Linked DNA regions of Homo sapiens: all the other regions are linked to region 3. Evidence: promoter capture Hi-C in 16 types of primary human blood cells and fetal thymus (Javierre and others, 2016). All regions are on one chromosome and are shown on one strand. Each heading gives the region's core, a stretch centred on a gene start or on the middle of the fragment in contact. The rest is flanking DNA. Distances are from core to core; before and after follow the strand shown. Region 1 overlaps BAG3 (BAG cochaperone 3). Region 2 has its middle 28 kb from the start of PRLHR. Region 3 holds the start of EIF3A (eukaryotic translation initiation factor 3 subunit A). Region 4 holds the start of LOC105378512 (a long non-coding RNA gene). Region 5 overlaps INPP5F (inositol polyphosphate-5-phosphatase F).

What was found. Contacts are between HindIII fragments. The CHiCAGO score rates a contact against its expected background, and 5 or more counts as called.
Region 1: a fragment that was not itself captured here is called in contact with the fragment with the promoter of EIF3A in region 3 in 1 of 17 cell types (fetal thymus); the score reaches 5.6 in fetal thymus.
Region 2: a fragment that was not itself captured here is called in contact with the fragment with the promoter of EIF3A in region 3 in 1 of 17 cell types (M1 macrophages); the score reaches 6.2 in M1 macrophages.
Region 4: a contact is called between a fragment that was not itself captured here and the fragment with the promoter of EIF3A in region 3, in 16 of 17 cell types (fetal thymus, erythroblasts, non-activated CD4 T cells and 13 more). The highest score is 16.3, in fetal thymus.
Region 5: a fragment that was not itself captured here is called in contact with the fragment with the promoter of EIF3A in region 3 in 1 of 17 cell types (fetal thymus); the score reaches 5.9 in fetal thymus.

The regions. Positions count from the first base shown.
Region 1 is chr10:119,654,115-119,656,814 of GRCh38, forward strand. All of the region lies in intron 1 of BAG3 (BAG cochaperone 3), which reads left to right. Among named protein-coding and RNA genes, the nearest start is that of BAG3, 4.1 kb to the left of the region's middle. The HindIII fragment of the contact is 928 bases long and covers 919-1,846 here.
Region 2 is chr10:118,566,266-118,568,965 of GRCh38, forward strand. No RefSeq gene overlaps it. Among named protein-coding and RNA genes, the nearest start is that of PRLHR, 28 kb to the right of the region's middle. The HindIII fragment of the contact is 5,456 bases long and covers 1-2,700 here.
Region 3 is chr10:119,079,402-119,082,101 of GRCh38, forward strand. It overlaps EIF3A (eukaryotic translation initiation factor 3 subunit A), which reads right to left and starts at 1,416. Exons shown (of 22, transcript NM_003750.4): 1 at 1,227-1,416. The coding sequence starts at 1,275. RefSeq lists a silencer at 881-1,140 and enhancers at 1,146-1,908, 1,336-1,630. The HindIII fragment of the contact is 5,277 bases long and covers 1-2,700 here.
Region 4 is chr10:119,593,274-119,595,973 of GRCh38, forward strand. All of the region lies in intron 1 of TIAL1 (TIA1 cytotoxic granule associated RNA binding protein like 1), which reads right to left. It overlaps LOC105378512 (a long non-coding RNA gene), which reads left to right and starts at 2,291. Exons shown (of 2, transcript XR_946358.3): 1 at 2,291-2,700. The HindIII fragment of the contact is 2,099 bases long and covers 300-2,398 here.
Region 5 is chr10:119,826,830-119,829,529 of GRCh38, forward strand. INPP5F (inositol polyphosphate-5-phosphatase F) reads left to right here. Exons shown (of 20, transcript NM_014937.4): 20 at 1-2,318. The coding sequence ends at 951. MCMBP (minichromosome maintenance complex binding protein) reads right to left here. Exons shown (of 16, transcript NM_001256378.2): 16 at 2,611-2,700. Among named protein-coding and RNA genes, the nearest start is that of MCMBP, 45 kb to the right of the region's middle. The HindIII fragment of the contact is 7,246 bases long and covers 1-2,700 here.

The DNA.
Region 1 (2,700 bases), core at 133-2,632, 570 kb after region 3:
ACACACAATATCAGGTTGCACTTGTGTGAGTTACACCTTACTGGAGACTAAATGTAGTGGAAAATCCTTGAATATCATTTTGTATTTGAAATTGGCTTCTCAATGCATAATGAGAAAAAGGCCCTTGCAGAAAACAAAGGGCGATTTTGGAGGAGCTGAGCTGAGGCCCGTCTGAGCATCATCATCTTCAAGAGGAAATGCTGTCAATCAGTAAAAAGCTGTTCATTGAGCATGAGGAGCTCAAGAGACGACCTCTCTTTTGGGGGAGGACTCAGCTTCAGGATGTTTAAAATTTAATCACGTTAGTAAGAAAATGGAAAGAAAAGACTAGACCTTTGTATTTTATTTCGTCTTCTACTGCCGTCTTGCAGTTGATCTTCCGCCTTCTCCTGAAGTAGTTAGGACAACTCCCTGTTTTCACAGAGGGGCAGAGCGAAAGCAAGTATCTTCTGTCATTGCTGAAGCAGGACGGCTCCCGGCAAAGATGCTGGGCTTCATCCAGCCCCATTCTAAGCAGCTGGGCCTCCCCACCTGCAGTCTTCCTGGATTTTGATTTTCTGCACACTTGGGCTTCCCACTAATTTGGCAAGTTCATACCAGTCCAGGCCCTTTCCTGGCAGAGGATGGCATTCAGTGCTGGTGCAGCCACTCCTCCAGGCTCCTCCCTGAATAAACAGAGGCCGGATGTTCTGGAGTGCTGTTCCCGCCAGGCCTCCTTGGGATGAGAGGGAGACCTTCCTCCCTCATGGAGCAGGGCCGCTCTAGCTCCATGGATCTTGGGGGTTACCAGTCTGGCACTCTCCAGGGAGTCCTGTTAAGAACACAGATTGTGGCTGTGTCTCATCGCCTCCCTGCCCCAACCCCATGTTCAAATCTGAATTGCTCAGTGTAGGGCCCAGAAAACTATTAAGTCCAGAAAGCTTTTTTGGTGGTTCTGATTCTGCTGCACTGGCAGTGGGAGCCACGGATGGCCAGTGATCCCATTTTGGGGAGGAGGAGCTGCGGCTTAGTGCCTCCTGAACATCTATCCTGCAGAGCATTTTCCCAAGCCTCCATTTTCCTTCTTGGGGAAACTCCCCAGGTACGCGGGCTTCTGGAGGTGTGAATATGGGGATGACATGGGAAGCGAGCCGAGACAGCACCTTGCAAAGTCTGGCAGGGTGGCTGGCAGTGCGAGAGTGGGGAGGTGGTCCAGAGATCTTCCTGGACCCCAGGAAGAAGCAAGCCAGAGCCTTTTCTTTTTGTCTTGCCCATCTGGCAGAATCTCACCATAATCATTTAACAGATTATACTCAGGCACTGTGACAGGGAGATAGAAACATCCTTTCAGATAACACTGGAAATGTTTCGAGTTATGATTGAAGTAGAGAGACCCATTTATTTTGCTTAAGGTTCAGCAGAGCCTCCTGAATTTTCTTAAAGATGAGATCGTTTTGCTCTTTCCAGATCTATTGCAAGCTGTTATGCCTCTTAGCAGAGGCGGAGCACAATCAGGAAATGAGTGGCCGTTCTCTCCTTCGTATTTCCAGCAAGTTGCAGTTGTGGCTGAGCAAGTTCCTGTGCGACTGCATGAAAGTGATTTGTTGGGGGGCAGATGAACAGCATGGCCAGATGCCTTGGAGCCCAGCTCATCCAGGACTTTCATTTTCCCCTCTGAAGAACAGCCTGTGTTGTTCACATGAGAACCGACTGCACCTCCGAGAACATCATTTGTCCCGTTTTGTAGGGTAGATTTGCCCTTTATGAGGGTGGAGCCTGTACACAGGACCTGCGGCAGCGTTTGACGTTGGCCAGGGCTGGGAAGGCTTAACTGTTGGATGCTATCAGGGCTGCTTGTGAGTCAGAAAGCTTCATACCACCCATGAGGCTTGCTTAGTGCTGTCCTCGTTTCTGGAATGACACACAGTCACCTTATATAAACCACTCTACATGTTTATTACTTTCTATTGACATTTAAAAATGATGTTCTGATGTTTATCATCCAAAGTAGAAAACCATTCATCATCCAGACCTACTCTTTCTCCTTTAAGTTTTGCTGTTTTAATATTGCTCTTAAATGTTTAAGAGAGCTTACAGAAGAAACTGAAGACAAAGGCCTTGCTTATTAGGATCTTTGAGACCCTCTGGCACTGGCGAACACGAGTGAACCCTGTGTCACACTTGACCGTGTTATTCTCCAGCCCCTCCTGGGTTCCCTTTTGTTGTGAGTCAAGTAGACACCTCTGATCTGCTTCTGCCTCAGAGCATAGACTCAGCTGGCCTTCTTTTTTTTTTTTTTTTTTTTGAGACGGAGTCGCACTTTGTCTCCCAGGCTGGGGTGCCGTAGTGCGATCTTGGCTCACTGCAACCTCCGTCTCCTGGGTTCAAGCGATTCTCCTGCCTCAGCCTCCCAAGTAGCTAGGATTATAGGTGAGCGCCACCATGCCCATCAGCCGGCCGTCTGAGGCAGGCTCCAGAGCCCCTTGTTTTGCAGGTGCAGGATTCATCTGTATGCATCATGTGGCACATGTGATACCATGTGAGGTATCTGGTGTTACTAAGTCGTCACGTATTTCGATGAAGGTATCTTTGGGACCTTGGCAGCCTTTTAGGAAGCCAGGCAGCTTGCAAAAGCTTAGGAAGAATTTGGGGGGAGAGGAATGAATGTAGTATTTTTCTGTCTGTCAACACACACACATATATATATATATGTGCCAGATA
Region 2 (2,700 bases), core at 170-2,669, 510 kb before region 3:
GCCTCCAAAAGTGCTGGGATTATAGGTATAAACCACTATGCCTGGCCCCAGTAGATCCTTTTTTTTTTTTTTTTGAGACAGAGTCTCACTCTGTCACTCAGGCTGGAGTGCAATGGTGTGATCTCAGATCACTGCAACCTCCACCTCCCAGGTTCAGTTCACTGCTCTATCCCCAGGGCTTAGCGTCTGGCACTGGCTCCCAAATATGGAGTTGTTTACATAATTAATGATTCCTCTACTATGACCCAGGCTGTTCCCTGTTGTATTTTGTACAAATGAAACAGCTGACAAAGTGAGACACTGAGAGACTCTAACGCCCAAATGGGAGTGGCACAAGGCGATCGTGGGTGAGAGCAGGCATGTTTCCACACACTCCAGGGAGAAGGCTAGGGCCTGGGGTCCCCTTAATCTGGTCAGGTCTCCGCCAGCTGAAGGAGACCAAGATGCTGGCAGAGATGATGAGGTCACAACCAAGTCTGGGCCCTCAGCATGCCTGAGTCCTGCCCTGTGGTGGGGTGGCTGGTAGAGAAGCTGCAAAGCCACCCCACAGCTCGGGTGTTTGTGGGCTTTGCAGGGCTCCAGGGAACCTGGCTCTGCTGGCCAGTCTGCTCTCCTGGCTCGTGTGTGTAAGATGATGTGGTGAAAACGACTTCAGTTCCATGAACACAGGCTCAGGGTGGAGGGTCCTATTTGAAGCTGTGCCTTCTGAGTCTAGAGTGTGCAGTCAGGCACTGTATAGACAATGAGTTCTTCATTGATGGGACAAGCGCTGGAGTCAAAAACCTGAGCTGGACATCAGTTAAGGGGTAAAAACCGATTTTACTCAGGACTATTGCAATAGGGAGAATAGAGAACCGGGCTCAACTCCCACTTGCAAGGGCAGGTGGAGTGTTGGAGCAAAGGAGCAGCGTGGGGGTCAGCGGGTGGAAATGGCTAAGAGGAAACATTAGGGGCCAAGGGGATTCTTGCTGAAGACAGGCCAGGAAGATCAGACCTCCCCAGGGCAGTGGTAAAAGATGAGGAACCCGACCAGATATCGAGAGTGATCAGAAATGGAGAATGACAGCTGGGAGTGGAGGGGTCTAGCTAACCTGACTTAGCAGGACTCTTGCTAAAGCTGGATTTTACAAGAAGTGCACAGAGGTGGGCCTAAGAGAAGGTGCAGGAGGCTGACTGAAGTTTGGCCAAGCAAAGAATCTTTGTCATTGGCTAGGGGAAGTATTGGTCCTAAAATCCTGGATAGGAAGACAAACTGTAGGCCAGCAGTGACAGAGGAAATACCTATGTCAAGAAAGTTGGAAATGTGTCAGAGATTAATTTTAGCCCTGGGAATATGTCCGTCGGAAGAAACAGAATGGAAAATGGGGAATCTAGGAGAAACCACCGACATTCCTTCGTCAAGCATTTATGGCGTGCCTGCTCTGAGCTGGCCTGCAGGGTCTGTGGGAAGAGACAGTGCCTCCCTCTCCAGGGCCCCCATGGGACACTTCTCATATTCTGAAACAGTGCTTGCCAGGTCACATTGTATTATCTGGGCTTTCCACTCCTACAAGGACTGGAGCTGGTTCTCACCACAGGTGGAAGCTGAGCTTGCATCTGCGGCCTAGCAGGTTCTCCACATGGTGGGTAATGTGTGACTTCTGTGTCCCCGGCATGGAGTCCCGCTAGGCCCAGTGCTAGTCTACTATCTAATTCATGAGTTATTCTGGTTACGTTCTTGCCACAGTTGAGGAGACTAAATGGTTCTCCATAGGACAGGCCGTGCAACGGCATCTAATGAGTCCTCTCTCTCTCCCTCCCTCCCTTTGTTCCTTCCTTCCCACAGCTGAAGCATTTTCCCGGGAAAAAGTCCAGGCCGGGCACGGTGGCTCACACCTGTAATCCTAGCATTTTGGGAGGCCGAGGCAGGTGGATCACCCGAGGTCAGGAGTTCAAGACCAGCCTGGCCAACATGGTAAAAACCCATCTCTACTAAAAATACAAAAATTAGCCTGGCATGGTGGTGGGTGCCTATAATCCCAGCTACTAGGGAGGCTGAGGCAGAAGAATTGCTTGAACCTGGGAGGTGGAGGTTGCAGTGAGCCGAGATCGTGCCACTTCACTCCAGCCTGGGTGAAAGAGCAAAACTCCGTCTCAGAGAAAAAAAAAAAAAAAAAAAAGTGAAAAGTTAAAAGTCCATCCTAGAAAAATTCCACTCTTTGCCACAAGGTGGTGATCAAGGCTCACATAGTTTGGGGCCTACACTTTGCGAGCTGAAAGTGATCGTCTCACTCCACGAGGATTTGGGGGTTTGTTTCGGTTTTCCTTTTTAATATCTGGAGGGGAAGCAAGTGTTCCTAGGCAGCTCCCCACTACCCACCACAATCTAATTGTCCTTCAAACCAGACTCTGGTCTGTGTAAACAGGCCGTAAGATGGACTTCTGGAGTTGTCTGGGCACCCGGCTATGAACTTTTCAGATGGCTGTGAAATGTGGTGATTTGAGTTGCTGCTTCTCTGTTCTCAGTCAACACATGGGCCAGACTAGATACTGCTGCCTTACTGGCCTTGAACACATGGCTCTGATCCGAGGCCATTGCCTGACTTTCTTGGAATTATTGAGATCAAGAAATTGTAAGAGGCTGAGGCAGGAGAATCACTTGAACCCAGGAGGCGGAGGTTGCAGTGAGCTGAGATCGCGCAACTGCACTCCAGCCTGGGT
Region 3 (2,700 bases), core at 166-2,665:
CCATTTTCATAAGATGAATTTTCAAAGAAGCTAACAAAATAAGCTCTCCAAACATAAAACTGTAACTCACAAGGTATATTCATCTACAACATGGGTAAAACCCGAAACTTCTATTTCGGTGAAGGAAGGATGAAAATAAGAGCTATCCATGCCCTAACGATTAGAAAAATTGTCCGGTTAGAGGGGAAAAAAAAAACCCTACACAAAGTTTCTTAAGCCCAGAGCCTAGCCAAGAACATGTGCATCCCCAGAACGCCAATGTAATAAATGCCTTGGAGAGATCGGGGCACACAAGTTTTTCCCTCAAGCGCCAATGGCTGAAGTACACATATAGAAATAGAAATCGCAGACAGCAGCACTGTGGCAGAAAAAAAGAGAAAAAAGGACTGATCTGGATGTCAAGAGACGTTGGTTTTAAGTCTCTTGGCTCAACAACTCCCGGAGTGACCTTGGGGAAACCTCTCTCTAGGCCTGTTTCGTTATCTTTAAGAGGCGACCTGAAGTCCCTTTACATTAACTCTATTCCAACTTCCAGTGATTCGAAACAGGCTTTAGGACTGCTTCTAATCAATGCCAGGAAAAATGAAAAAACAAAAACAAAACAAAACAACAGGAATCAGGTTAAATGGGTCAGAGGCCCCTAAGTGGATATAAAGCAGCTGGGTAAAGGGTAAGTGGACGCCGACCCAGCAAAGCACTGAGCGCGGCTTGGAGAGCGGGGGTGGCTGCGGGAAGGCCGGGGGTGGGTCCGTAGGGCTCCCGGCCCGGGCAGGAGGTGGAGCCGAGGCTCTCGCGTGCATTGTCCCCGGGAGGGAGCCATGTTTCTTACTCCCCGGCACTCCCAGATGGCGGCCGGGGACGCGGGCCCTAAGCAGACCAAAGCCCCAGGGACCTGGAGAGCCAGAGGACGCAGGCAGCAAGGAGGGAGCTCCAGTCCGGGTAGGGGCTGTCTCCCGGGCTGCGGTCCCCGCGACGCACCCGGAGGCGGCAGGGGGAAGGAAAGGCCCCTGGGGCGACGGTTCCGGGCTACGCGCCTCCCAGACCCCAGTCGATAGAGTGAGAAGGAAACCCATGCCCAACCACCGGCTGGGACAGCGGCGGGCAGGCCGCATCGGTCTCCTCTCCCCGCGCGGGCCGGGCGGCGGAGCAGTGGGAAGCAGGCCCGCGCTCTCGACCTCGGAGGCCTCGGGCCGCCCCAGCCCGGCGCGCCCCGATCAGCTACTCACCGTTGGCGCGTTTGAGGGCATTTTCCGGCCTCTGAAAATAGGCCGGCATCTTGGCGGCAGGCTCAGCTCACCCGGCGTCAGCGAACTCTCTAGTGGCCCGGGCCGGGAGAGGAGACGAAGGGGAACCAGCGTAAGGTCCCACGCGCCTCGCCAGCAGTCGCCCGCGCCCAGCCGGCCAGAGACGGAAAGGAAGGAGCCACGTGACCTCCCCGCGGCGGCCCTGCTGCCGCCCAGGCCCCGGATGTAGGGGGCGGGTCTCCGTGCGCGCAAGCGCGCTGGCGTCACGCACGCCGACAGACGTGGCGGCGCCGGAGTCCTAGGCGCGCAAGGTCCAGTTCCCGTCTTGGGCCTGTCCTGGATAGCGTTAGGGAGACAGTTCACAGGCTCTTCAATCTTCGAGCGAGAATTAGGGTGGGAAGGGTGAGTGTGGGGTCAGAGTTTCTGTCTGGAGAACAAGCAAACGTCTGCAGATTGGTTTTCAAAGCGACTTGTGCGGAGTCGTGCAGTTACAGTAAGGTCCCATCCAGCCTGGGAATCGCCTGTCTTGGCTACGTGAAAATGCTGAGTTTAACGAAAACGCAGTGAGCAGGTGTCATCAGGTCAGCGCCGCTCAACCGTGAGAGACAATCATGGGGAAGAGTGACGCCTAAAATAAACAAGCAAGGTTCTTTTATATCTTGGTAAAGTAAAAAGTTTGTGTCACAGGGATTGCCTTGAGAAATGGAGGCTCTCAGAGGGGGCGAATGGGGACAGCGACCTGGCAAAGGGCGAAACGCCCTGGAGCACAGCAGACTTGCTTGGTGTTTGAAAACACACGGAAAGGAGTGTCGTCACTTTTTACATACAGCGCACGTCACAAACAAATTAAGAAAAATTAGTGTTAGTGAAAAAAATCAATCTGAGAGGCCCTTTTATTGTTGCTTAACAATTTTAATGTTCGCAGACGAAGTACTTTACCTAGAATTTGAAAACCATTTGAACCGAATCTAATTCTCAAGCCCTTGGTACGAAATAAAGGTGAGCTCAGAAGGAAAAAAATTTTTTTTTTTTTTGAAACGGAGTCTCGCTTTGTCGCCCAGGCTGGAGTGCAGTGGCACGATCTCGGCTCACTGCAAGCTCCGCCTTCTGGATTCACGCCATTCTCCTGCCTCAGCCTCCCGAGTAGCTGGGACTACAGGCGCCCGCCACTGCGCCCAGCTAATGTTTTGTATTTTTAGTAGAGACGGGGTTTCGCCGTGGTCTCGATCTCCTGACCTCGTGATCCGCCCTCCTCGGCCTCCCAAAGTGCTGGGATTACAGGCGTGAGCCACCGCGCCCAGCCCAGAAGGAAAATTTAGAAGGCAGCAGTGAAATAGATTATTGTCAATGTATTACACATTTAATAGACGAGATATGTGAATTAATGAATGAGGAAATCGGCCGGGCATGGTGGGTCGCGCCTGTAATCCCAGCACTTTGGGTGGCTGGGGCGGGT
Region 4 (2,700 bases), core at 99-2,598, 510 kb after region 3:
CAATGCATAATACCCCAAAATAAATGTCAAATGAGAATGAAGAACATCAGAAAACAGACCTTTAAAGCAACTATATGACAAATAGAAATTTAGGCTCAACATCAAAGCAATTCTTGCCACTTTAAATACCATCAAATAAATTAGTAATACTGTAGGTAATGAATATTTAAAGACCTACCTAGGCTCTAAACACCATATTGTTTTCTGAAGATAGAACCATATGTCTTAGCTTGTGTGTGTCTGCAGGAAAAAAACCTCACTAGTAACACACAGGCATCTTAAGGAAACAATTTAAGATAAGCTTTGTTAAGAACACATTCTTTTAAAACATACTGGCCACTTGAAAAACCTAATCCATAGCTCACAATGTAAAATATAAGATCTCCATAAACAAAAAACCCTACTAGATATCAACGTCTAAAATCATGTTCAGTTTTCATCATGTTACTTATATCTAATAGAACCCTTTGAGAATATGTAAAACGTACACTTAGAAAAACTATGCATTATTTGTATTAAACTCTAATAAAAATCCCAATTGTTAAACATTTGCTTTTATCTCAAGATTTTACATTTGAAGGTTTTAAAAAATATATAAAAGTCAACAGACTGCACCACATGTGACAGTAATGTCTGCCTACAATCTTAGTTCAACCAGGACTTTTAAAAAAGAACTTAATACTAATTTAATGAAAGAAGTATAATCACTGTAGAAATTCTGAGTACCTCTTATGTTCCAGGCAGTGAACTAAGTGCTGTGGGGGTAAGACCTAGGAAGATGTAGTAGTCCTTCTCTTAAAAAAAAAAAAAGGCCCTATGGAAAAGGGTGGGAGAAGGAAAAAGGAAGACAGAATAGTAAACACGTACTGACATACAAAACAACAGAGTTAAGATGTTTATTTATTCATATGAACATGTCACAGTTTTAGAGAACTGTAAACATAGACAACTTAACTGTTTCAAAGAAAGAACAAGAGATTAGAGAAGGTAGAGGAAGGAAATAAGTGACAAAGAAGTTAGCTTATTATTCCCCTGGAGAAACTCTGATAGGGATGAAGGCAAGGCAGATGCAAAGATAAATAAAAGACATCAAAAAAGCACATTCTTTAGCACTACAAAACCAGAGATTCCTCTTGGTAAGGAACAGATACAGTAAATGAGACCCCTGCCATGAGTATTTATCAATCATTCAGTGTGTGATGATACTTCAGATTTTTAGATACAATGTAACTTTTATCTTTGTTAAATACATGTTAGCTAGTCTTTAAGCCTAGCTTTCCCAGATGCTTATATCAAAGTACACATTGTAACTCAACACCAAGTCTTGGCTTCAACAGATGTTGAAGGATAAAATTTTTTTTTTAATTGTTTAGACGAACTCTCGCTCTGTCACCAGTCTGGAGTGCAGTGGTGCAATCTCGGCTCACTGCAACCTCTGCCTCCTGGGTTCAAGTGATTCTCCTGCCTCAGCCTCCCAAGTAGCAGGGACTACAGGCGCGCGCCACCACGCCCAGCTAATTTTTGTGTTTTTTGTAGAGACGGAGTTTCACCGTGTTGGCCAGGAAGGTCTCGATCTCTTGACCTCGTGATCCGCCCACCTCGGCCTCCCAAAGTGCTGGGATTACAGGCGTGAGCCACTGCGCCCGGCCTGAAGGACAAATTTCAAGTGTGTCCCAATTCTTTCTTCTAGGGAGAGAAGGCAGAAATGGAAGACAACACAAAACACAAAGACGTTCTATTAAGCAGGCGTTTCATTGAAGCATTGGATGTGCTTCAGTAGGCCTCAGATTCTCAAAACGGGACGGATACTTCAGTGAGACGTTAGAGAACACATTTATTCCTGTACAAGGCCACACCAAAAAAATCTCTATCAATACTGAACATCTATCTTCTTTACTGAGCATCCTTTCTTTGGTAGGAGTGAAGAGATGTGAAGCTAGTCAAACTTCTCGAGTGCCCCTCCACCTTCATCTATTCCCTAAAAAGCAATTTCCCCATCAGAGAGCAGAGCCAAGTGGACTATGATCCTATCAATACCAGGAGAGGCAAGAGAAACAAAGCAGCGATCTGACTCCTTGGTACTCAAGGTAGGAGTGCTAGACCTGGAGAGGCCGGGAAATTAGGGTGCCCAATTTAAACATTTAATTAAAAAGTATTCAGACTTAAAAAAAAAAAAAAAGATGCAGAGAAAAGGAGTGCCACACTATTCAGAAAGGAATGCAAATGCTGAGTCATCACTCTTCATTGGAAAGGAAGGAAACCAGAATTAAGTGGTTGGAAGATGGAATTCATTCATTAGATTGAGCTTCAGGTAAAAAGCAACAGCAAGACAGGAGAAAAAGCGTTCAGAAGACACACATCAAATAGCGGATGAAGACATAATTTTAGCCAACTCTGAAGCTTTCGACGCACAAACAGATTAGGAAGAGGCAACACCTAGAGAGCAAAAGGAGTTTAACAACTGGTTGTCAGTTTAGCGTAGGGAGCGCTCAAAGTAAACTTCTTTATCCAAGAAGGGAAAGATGCTCGGGCAGCAAAAGGTATCCCTTATGTACTTCAAAAGTAGCGGGCGCTAGGCGGGTGTTTCTGACAGCGTGGGCGGGGGCACGTGGGGCATAAAGAGAGAAGGGGCTTGAGTGGTGAAAGAGTGTCCTGCTTCCTCCGAGAGCTTAGCTGGGGAGAAGAGCTGGGAGCGACTCG
Region 5 (2,700 bases), core at 105-2,604, 750 kb after region 3:
AAACCAAACTTAAAAGTAAATCTTTGGAAATCAGATAGTAGTCTTGAAACTATGGAAAACACAGGAGTGATGGATAAGGTTCAGGCAGAGTCTGATGGGGACATGTCTTCAGATAATGACTCATACCACTCTGATGAATTCCTTACAAATTCTAAGTCTGATGAAGACAGGCAGCTAGCTAACTCATTAGAGAGTGTAGGGCCAATAGATTACGTTCTTCCTAGTTGTGGTATTATTGCCTCAGCGCCTCGATTGGGCAGTCGGTCCCAGTCTCTTAGCAGCACAGATAGTAGCGTTCATGCTCCTTCAGAGATTACTGTTGCTCATGGGAGTGGGCTTGGAAAAGGCCAGGAGTCTCCTTTGAAGAAAAGTCCTTCTGCTGGCGACGTACACATATTGACTGGCTTTGCCAAGCCTATGGATATTTACTGCCACAGATTTGTGCAAGATGCACAGAACAAAGTGACCCACCTATCAGAGACCAGATCTGTGTCTCAGCAGGCTAGTCAGGAAAGAAATCAAATGACCAATCAAGTTTCAAATGAAACCCAATCAGAATCAACAGAACAGACACCTTCTCGGCCATCGCAATTAGATGTCTCTCTTTCTGCAACAGGCCCACAGTTTTTGTCAGTTGAGCCAGCGCATTCAGTTGCATCTCAAAAAACCCCCACCTCCGCTTCCAGCATGCTTGAACTTGAGACAGGGCTTCATGTAACTCCTTCTCCTTCAGAGAGCAGTAGCAGCAGAGCAGTCTCTCCCTTTGCCAAGATTCGAAGTTCCATGGTCCAGGTTGCTAGTATTACCCAAGCTGGATTAACCCATGGGATAAACTTTGCAGTGTCAAAAGTTCAGAAGAGTCCTCCAGAACCTGAAATCATTAATCAAGTCCAGCAAAATGAACTTAAAAAGATGTTTATACAATGCCAGACACGGATAATTCAGATTTAGCTTTTAGCCATAAGAATCCTTCCATGGCTTTTATTTAAAAATATGAAATTTTCACCTCTTGGGGTATTTTAATTGTACTGTCTGAACCCAGGGATCACAAATTCTGTTCATTGGAAAGGGTTTTAAACGGAGTCGGAACCTGAGTAGATTTCCAAATTTTACAGCCAGGACTACAGAAGTGCATCATTCTAGAATGTGTAGACCTGAGTAGCTTATACACTACAGAGCACTTTGCTTATTTGAAAGTAATTCAGCAACAGGTCACTTTGGGATATAACCTGAACCTTTTTTTGGAGTGGGGTGGGTAGACTACAGTAGACACAAGGGCTGGACATGCAGATGCTTAGGGGATTAGCGTTTTTCATAATTTGTTCTGTTTGTCAGTTCATTCCTGTGTGTTCTTACCTCTACAAAGTAAATTACACATTTAGTTTTTAGTGACTTTAACATGTTACTGAAGCATTTGAATATAAAGCTATTTTAGTTTTGATGGCTTAACTGTTCCCTGAGGAGTTGAGGGTTATTGACACTAGAGAAATGAATTCTCATTTGATCCTAATTTTCCCCGTATTCTACTTGAACACATTAAAAATACTCTGCTGCCTATACAATGTAAACCTAGGAGCATTAAGACTTGTCACACAGTAAACCTGATACATCAGAGGTGAATACCAGCACCTATTAGGTTTCATTTTGCTGTTTTCAGGAATGTAAGAACACCCATATTGGCTACTGGAAATTCTAGAAGTCAGTCAGGTTTTAATTTATTCCAGGAGGGGCATCCTCGACATCTTATGTAGATGATCCACAACTTCAAAATTTAGTCTGGGCCTAGTGCAGTGGCTCACACCTATAATCCCAACACTTTGGGAGGCCAGGAGTTTTGAGACCAGCCTGGGAAACATCTGTCTCTACAAAAAAATACAAAAATTAGCTGGGCATAGTGGTGCATGCCTGTGTTTCTAGCTACGCAGGAGGATTGCTTGAGCCCATGAGATTGAGGCTGCAGTGAGCTGTGATCGTGCCACTGACCTCCAGCCTGGGGGACAGAGCAAGACCGTGTCTCAAAAACAATTTAGTCTGAAACACAATTGTGCTGAATCTGTCTGACTATAACTCTGACCACACAGAACCAGGGCTGCCCCTGTAATCCCCACAGTAAGAAAGTTGTATGGCATATTCCAACAAGTATTGGTTCGTCTGGTGTCTTTAGAGCTTTACTCTGTTGAAGTGACTGATTCTCAACTGAACATTATGTCGTTACTTTGATAAGCATTCCACTTTTGTTATTTATTAGTGCTATCTTTTTTTTTTACGTGTTAAATCTTGTGATTATTAAAATAAAGTACCATTGTAATTTAAAGTGACAAATGGGTATGAGAATTCCTTGCATAACAGATTAAAGAATTTGTAAACGGCAGATTTGCTATAACTGAACACTTGGTCTAGCTGTTGCCAGTATGTTACTCCTTTGAAATATACTCATGATGTAAAAAGGGAAATGGATCAGAAACTATACTTTAAATCCAAACATTCAAAACTGAATGCTTGCTTCTACCAACTTTTCTTCCGGGTCCTGAAAATATTAAGGGTTCCCAACATGGGAGAAAATACAACCCAACATTAGGTGATAAAATACACGTTTAAACTCTACAGAAATTAGTTCGAAAGAGATCTTTGAAAAATCATTTTAAGAAGGCAAAGTTCCAAACAGGGTTACACAGGAGTCTACTCAGTTTCCTGGCCATA